2 separate regions of the Homo sapiens genome follow, and region 2 is linked to region 1. The links are contacts of gene promoters, found by promoter capture Hi-C in human tissues and cell types (Jung and others, 2019). All regions are on one chromosome and are shown on one strand. The core of a region is centred on a gene start or on the middle of the fragment in contact, and the rest is flanking DNA. Distances in the headings are between cores, read along the strand shown.

Region 1 (3,653 bases), core at 794-3,293:
CTGCGAACAAATTCTTCCTCTCTGTTTCATCTTTGAATAACTTCGCCACACACCAACCCTCAGTGCTGCGAAAGTCATGGTGTTTATTTAGATATCGACTGAGTACTTATAAAACTTAAACTTTCCAATGTAAAAGTGAACTCCTTGGTAAGGACTCCTGGCTGCATCAACAAAGCAATGTGATGCCTGATTAATAGTGCTGATTAATGTTGGCTCAGGTTAATGCTCAGCCTATTACAGTAATTAAATTGTTCACCCATATATCAAACAAGAGTTAATGAAAAATAATTTATTTAGAACGTCGAGGCTTTCTCATAGATTGTTCAAAGACCTATGATAGCCTTTATGGGTCACTTGTAAGAGTAACTGGTGGTAGCAGTCCTCAGCAACAAAAACTCGATTTTAATAGAGGTCTTTAGATGGGGAAACAGTTTATTTCTGAGGCTCTGTGATTGACAGCGGTAGTAATGACACGTTTCAGAATGTGAAAAGTACTTGGTCGATAAAATGATATACACAAGGGCAGCTGATGGCTGTTCCTACAGAACGCCATTGAATTTTGATTCTTAGTTCTTGTCAAGGGGTCATTTTAATCAGAAAGTTAAACTTTTGGGACAAGCTCCCCTCTTTGAAATAGAAGCATTTTAGGAAATGCACAAATAAGTGAATGTGAATTCAACAAACTATTAGGATTTTTCCACTAGCCAAAATAGCTCGTTTGAGTTGGTGATAAAGATAGGTATATTTAAAAGAGCATCATATCTTAATTATTTCCACTATCTTGTCACCCGAAAAGAAAACTGAATTGAGCGGAACTTTAATCTCATAAAAAAAATTTTCATCTCACCAGAAAGGATTAACAATATTTAAGGATTTTCCAAAAACACATTTTTAAAAAGTTTATCTTAAAGTCATCTATCATTATAGTTTCTATTAATAAGCCTCAGTAGAAATATGTATATGTTATGTAATTTAAGTATTTTGAGATTACTATGCAAAGTGCTGACTAGAATGTTCCTCCTACTGAGAACTATATAGCCCCATTATGAACGAACTTCTGTTTTTTTTTTTTTTTTTTGAGGCGGAGTTTCGCTCTTGTTGCCCAGGCTGGAGTGCAGTGGCACGATCTCGGCTCACTGCAACCTCCGCATCCCGGGTCCAAGCGATTCTCCTGCCTCGGCCTCCCGAGTAGCTGGGATTACAGGCGCCGCCTACTAATTTTTTTCTATTTTTAGTAGAGACGGGGTTTCACCATGTTGGCCAGGCTGGTCGAACTTTTTAGTAGTTTCTAGGTGCAATTTTTGTGCGTGTATTTGGGTTTTCACTAAAAATTTCAATTTCTTCTCCGAATTCAATTATTACGTTCTTTATTCCCATGACATTTGTCAGATCGTCTCATTAGAGTGGCTTAGTTTAACTGTCAAGTCTCTAGGGCATTCAATCGCAGAGAAGTGAGTAAAACGCCAGTCTCACAGCGTTTTTATTAACAGATGGCGGAAAACAAACGTCTTTGGAGTAAAACCGAAGAGAATGGGTTAAAGGGTCAATAAACAATTATTATCGTGCTTAAATTGGGGGGCTTCGCATCAGATCCAATGGGGGGCCGCTCGCCCGATCTGGAGGGGCTGGACACCCCCAACCGACCCCAGAGCGTCCCCCAGGGGCCACCTCAGAGGATGGGGTGGTTATCCCCCGGCTGGAAGGCTCCTACAGGCTGTCGAGGGGTCAAACCAGAGTGTCGCGGGTGTGCTTCTGAGGTTAGGGTGGAGGACTAATTGAGGAGGCTGGGAAGTCTAACTCGTGCAGCGGCCCTCGGTGCAGACAGCCGCGTAATTCGGGCATCAGCCTCTTTGGCAAGAAATAGTGAGGTCCCCTCTCCTCCCCACTCTTCTCAGCTGCTGCCTCCCTCCTACGGGTGAATTTTCTCTCCCGAGAAGGGCTGATTTCCTAGGCTTGCTTTCCTTCCCTCGGCAGCGCTCTGACGTGCACACCATGTGACAGGCCCCCTTCTGCTATAAGCCGAGGAAGGTCCGCCCTCTCCTGGACTCAGCCCTGGCCTCGCCGAGCTCTGTTCTTAGACTCTCACCCGTCCCGCACGTTCCTGGGCGCCTGGCGTTCTGATTCGCCCGCCCGGGCCCCGCCACCCCCTCCTCAGCTGACGGGGCAAAAGCTGCTCCGAGAGGAGAAGGTCAAGTCCTCCGCCCGGGCCGGGCGCGAGCGGAGCCCAGGGAGCGCAGCATCCGCGCGGCTACCGCGGCGGCGCAGGAGTTATAAAGTCGGCGCGCGAGACTCCGCCGCCACCCGGCAGCCCCGGCGCAGCTCCGGCAGCCGCAGTCGCAGCGCCCCCAGCGTGGCGCCCCCCGGCCGGGCCTGCCGCCCGGGACCCGGGCTGGGGCGCAGAGGGAGCCCGGAGCCCGGCGCCCCCATGCGCCGCCCCGCCGCCGCCGCGCCACAGCTATGACCCTGAGCACTGAGATGTCCGATGCCTCTGGCCTCGCCGAGGAAACAGACATCGACGTGGTGGGGGAGGGCGAGGACGAAGAAGACGAGGAAGAGGAGGACGACGACGAGGGCGGCGGTGGCGGGCCCCGGCTGGCTGTCCCCGCGCAGCGGCGGCGGCGGCGGCGCTCGTACGCCGGGGAGGACGAGCTGGAGGATCTGGAGGAGGAGGAGGACGACGATGACATCCTGCTGGCCCCGCCTGCTGGGGGCTCCCCGGCGCCCCCGGGCCCGGCCCCGGCGGCGGGGGCAGGAGCCGGTGGGGGCGGCGGCGGCGGCGGCGCGGGCGGCGGCGGGAGCGCGGGTAGCGGCGCCAAGAACCCGCTGGTGAAGCCGCCCTACTCGTATATCGCGCTCATCACTATGGCCATCCTGCAGAGCCCCAAGAAGCGGCTGACGCTGAGCGAGATCTGTGAGTTCATCAGCGGCCGCTTCCCCTACTACCGGGAGAAGTTCCCCGCCTGGCAGAACAGCATCCGCCACAACCTCTCGCTCAACGACTGCTTCGTCAAGATCCCCCGCGAGCCCGGCAACCCGGGCAAGGGCAACTACTGGACGCTGGACCCGGAGTCCGCCGACATGTTCGACAACGGCAGCTTCCTGCGCCGGAGGAAGCGCTTCAAGCGGCAGCCGCTGCTCCCACCCAACGCCGCGGCCGCCGAGTCTCTGCTGCTGCGCGGCGCGGGAGCCGCAGGGGGCGCGGGCGACCCGGCAGCCGCCGCCGCGCTCTTCCCGCCCGCGCCCCCGCCGCCCCCGCATGCCTACGGCTACGGCCCCTACGGCTGCGGCTACGGCCTGCAGCTGCCGCCTTACGCGCCGCCCTCGGCCCTCTTCGCCGCCGCAGCGGCCGCCGCCGCCGCCGCCGCCTTCCACCCGCACTCGCCCCCGCCGCCCCCGCCACCGCACGGCGCGGCCGCCGAGCTGGCCCGGACCGCCTTCGGCTACCGGCCGCACCCGCTCGGCGCCGCCCTACCCGGCCCCCTGCCGGCCTCCGCGGCCAAGGCGGGCGGCCCGGGCGCCTCAGCGCTGGCGCGCTCGCCCTTCTCCATCGAGAGCATCATCGGGGGCAGCTTGGGCCCGGCCGCCGCTGCCGCCGCCGCCGCGCAGGCCGCCGCCGCCGCTCAGGCCTCGCCCTCGCCCTCGCCGGTGGCGGC
Region 2 (3,780 bases), core at 1,173-3,672, 550 kb after region 1:
AGCTTAAAAAAGGAAACATTTAAAAATTAACTATGATCATAAGGAATTAGAAGAGATTACCTTAATGGCTGTCCCTATTAGCCCACAGTCAAGGAACCTCAACTCATTCAGTTTATACTGGACTTTAATGTCCTGCATCACACAACAAAATAACCCCCTGTGCAATAAATGTTCAGCATCAGAAATGAACTGAAAGCACCAAATCGACACCCATAAAAATACTCTTTCATTTACCGGATTAAAGAAAAACATAAAACCAATGATCTTACAGTTTTGACTGGCCTAGAAAGAAATTAAAGCTAGCTAAATATATATTAAATGACCTTGATTTGAAATAGAGAAATTAGTAATTTCAAGGTCCATTTTCAGACATAACTTAGTTGAAACAACCAAAAAATTGAAGAAAAACTAATTATGTAATTACAAATACCCAATCCAAACAAGAACAAAAAACCCAACTTTTGGACAATTACTTAAAAGATAATCAGGCTATTCTGACTATAAGAACAAGATAATAATATGCTTTAAGCATTTCATTAAAATATTCTCAATCTTGCCTATCATACTGAAACACTAACAGTTCAACAAACAGCATTCAACATATTGCTGATTTTCTGACATGTCAACTATAAATTTTACTATTATATTCAGAAAACTTCACTAATTTCAAAAAATTTGGTAATACTACAGTGTGTGTATGTTTATTTAAGCAAAAAAGATTTGCTTAACACAATTTATTCAAATTATGTCTTCCAAATACCAAATCTGATGTTAAAAATTTAAATGCACAGATACCCAGAATTTGTGATTAAAAAATTTAAATGTAAATAAACCTATGACATTTTATTTTAACCATATCCAAAATAAGGTATGTGAATAAAAGTTATAAAACAGAAATTTCTACCAACTCTTAAGTTGGTAACAATTTTATGATCATACATGTGCTACTTTTATCATCTTAAAACATTAATTCAAAAACAAAGAAACAATAAAATCTTGGTCGGAAGATACTTTTGAAAAAGATGGTACATGTCATATCAGATACCTCTAGCACACATTTGAGATCACACAAAGTTCTTAAGTATTAAAAAAAAAAACAAAAACCCAGAAAATGTCAAAAGCTTATTTTGTAACTAGAAACCTCTCAAGATGGCACTGGCTTGTTCTAACAGTAAGTTATGAATATTTTATGAGTGTGAAATCAGTCAGAAGTTATTTTCTAATTCTAACTTGTAGGTTTTCAACGTCTATCACCTGTATCAATTTGAATTTTATAAAACAGAATTAACGTTTCTAAAACCGAGTTAAGAAAAACCACAATACGAGCTAGGAAACATCAAAAGGTCACAATTTAAAAATGTTCAAAACACCCCTCTCGGAGTGGAAAGTTTCAATTTTCTTGAAAATTAAGAAATGTGAGAAAGTTATTGCTATAAAAGCATTTTTTTGGGGCAGTTTTATAACTCTTGTGTGCATTCCTGGAAACCAAAATTTAGTTCTTTGCTTCCCTCCCTCAACTACATTTTTTTTTTTTCCAGATGAAGTCTCGCTCTTGTCCCCCAGACTGGAGTGCCATAGCGCGATCTCGGCTCATTGCAACCTCTGCCTCCCGGGTTCAAGCAATTCTCCTGCCTCAACCTCCCGAGAGCTGGGATTACAGGCACCTGCCACCAAGCCTGGCTAATTTTTTATCTGAAGTAGAGATGGGGTTTCACCATGTTGACCAGGCTGGTCTCGAACTCCTGACCTCGTGATCTGCCTGCCTCGGCCTCAACTACGTTTTTCAATTGATTTGATGTATCTTGGGTCTCTTGTCTACAGGATTCCTTCCACGCTTTCTTTTCCTTAAACGTGTCTGCTGAAGAATCCAGGTATTTAACCTAGAGTCCCACAGTTAGCATTTTGTTCACTGAATATACATGGTGTAATTCAACATGTTTTTGTTTTGTGTGTCTAGAAAATTGGCAGTTGGATCCAGATGCTTAACTGGACTCATGTTCAATACTACTGCCGAATAATTAAAATGTCTACATATAACTTGAACTTGGAAAACAAAGATGAATAAATCATAAGCTCTCAAAATTAGAGCAATTTCAATGGCTGATTTGTATTTTATTCATTATTTCTAAATCTGATTCAAAGTATTTTATTCAGAATAGAGAGACAGTATTCCTACTATTTGGTCACTCTATTAACTGTAGATATCCACAAACTGATATCCAGGGATGGGAGGCAGGGACAAAGTAAATAAATGAGGTCTGAAATTTGGATGAAAGAAGCCATGGCCTGATTCAAGACAAGAATATAACCTTGTTGTCCCAATCTGCTGTTACTATCTCATTTCATGACAAAAAAAATTTAGGAAAAAAAAAAGGCATTACAATTTCAAGATATTAAGAAATATACATTTTAAAGGTTTAACTGTATTTTGATACCTTTGAAAATAGTTAACTTTTTATAATTAAAGTATTAGAATGTTTCTTCCTTTAAAATTTTATTAATTAGACATTAAAAACAAATCTTTGTGAACATCTTACTTGGATTACGCCACTGGGATTCACACTGATCATGGTACAAATTCCACGGAATGCTGAATCCTTTTCCTCATTGTCTCTTATGTTTCTCAGAGAGGTGCACCTATTGAATTACAGAATTGAGTTTAGCATTTAAGTAACAAGCAGATTCAATGACAATACTAATGGACAGTATTTAATGGAATAAGCACCACAGTATAGATAATGATTATATTAAAAGAGTTTTTCGGAAAGCTTTAGTTTCGTTTACTCATACTTCCTGTTTGTTGGGCCCATCTTATCTCAATACAGTAGAAACAGTGAAATCCACATTTTCTTAATAAATTGCATTTATAAAGTAGATAACTAATTTGAATCTCCCATTTAAACTATTAATGAGCCTGAGCCAAGAAGAACAAATTACCAAATTAACTTTTAAAATTGTACTCATGACTTGTATTCCATTAAACACTACTAAAATGATTTGAATTGAAAGATTATCAATTGAAAGAAGCAAAACATAGGATATAGTGCCACAATATAAACTATTACTATATAGCTTATGGTGTAGATGTTTAACTTTTACATTAACAAGCAAATAATATTTTTATACATAACAAATTTAAACATGTATTTCTTAATGCAATCCAAGTTTCCAAATTAATTCTAAAAAAGAAACGTAATGCAAAAACCTAAATTTATAGAATTTGCATGCATCTTTATTTTTCTGGTGGATATTTAAATGCTTTTTATGTATAATCAAGCTTTTTTAACACAGCAAGCATGTGACAATCTTATCCCATGCATCAATTAGTCGTTAGCCACAACATAAAATAAATATACATGACGATGCTATTGAAAAACCTCACAAACCTGATAGGACAAGATTAGTCACATGGTTGGCAATGATAAAGGATTGTGATTTTTGTAACCAACTGAAAATATATCTAAAAGTGAGATAGAGAAAGAAAGAGTGAAGAAAAATGAATTAAAAAAAAAGATTGAATAATACACACCAGGGTCTTATAAACTGCTGTAGCATGGGGGCCACCTCTTGAGGACAAACGTAACCAAGACGACCAATTGTTATTGCTAAGGTAACGCAATCACGGTTATACACCACCAAACGCCAACCAAGACATGAGCAAATGAGGGGGAAGGAGAAAAAATAAAGAAAAAACAACAAATAACTCAGAAACAGAAACCAACAGAATTTGTGTATGATAATAAACATAAGATTTCACCAGTGCTGTTTATTACCACCCCC

Evidence for each region. The method cuts DNA at HindIII sites, captures the fragments that hold promoters and counts their contacts. A contact is called where the count stands out against the background at its distance.
Region 2: a contact is called between a fragment that was not itself captured here and the fragment with the promoter of FOXD1 in region 1, in 1 of the 25 tissues and cell types used here (H1 embryonic stem cells).

Annotation. Positions count from the first base shown.
Region 1 is chr5:73,447,167-73,450,819 of GRCh38, reverse strand. It overlaps FOXD1 (forkhead box D1), which reads left to right and starts at 2,043. Exons shown (of 1, transcript NM_004472.3): 1 at 2,043-3,653. The coding sequence starts at 2,458. The HindIII fragment of the contact is 13,220 bases long and covers 1-3,653 here.
Region 2 is chr5:72,899,831-72,903,610 of GRCh38, reverse strand. It overlaps TNPO1 (transportin 1), which reads right to left. Exons shown (of 25, transcript NM_002270.4): 21 at 3,530-3,605; 22 at 2,538-2,637. Among named protein-coding and RNA genes, the nearest start is that of MIR4804, 23 kb to the right of the region's middle. The HindIII fragment of the contact is 4,390 bases long and covers 228-3,780 here.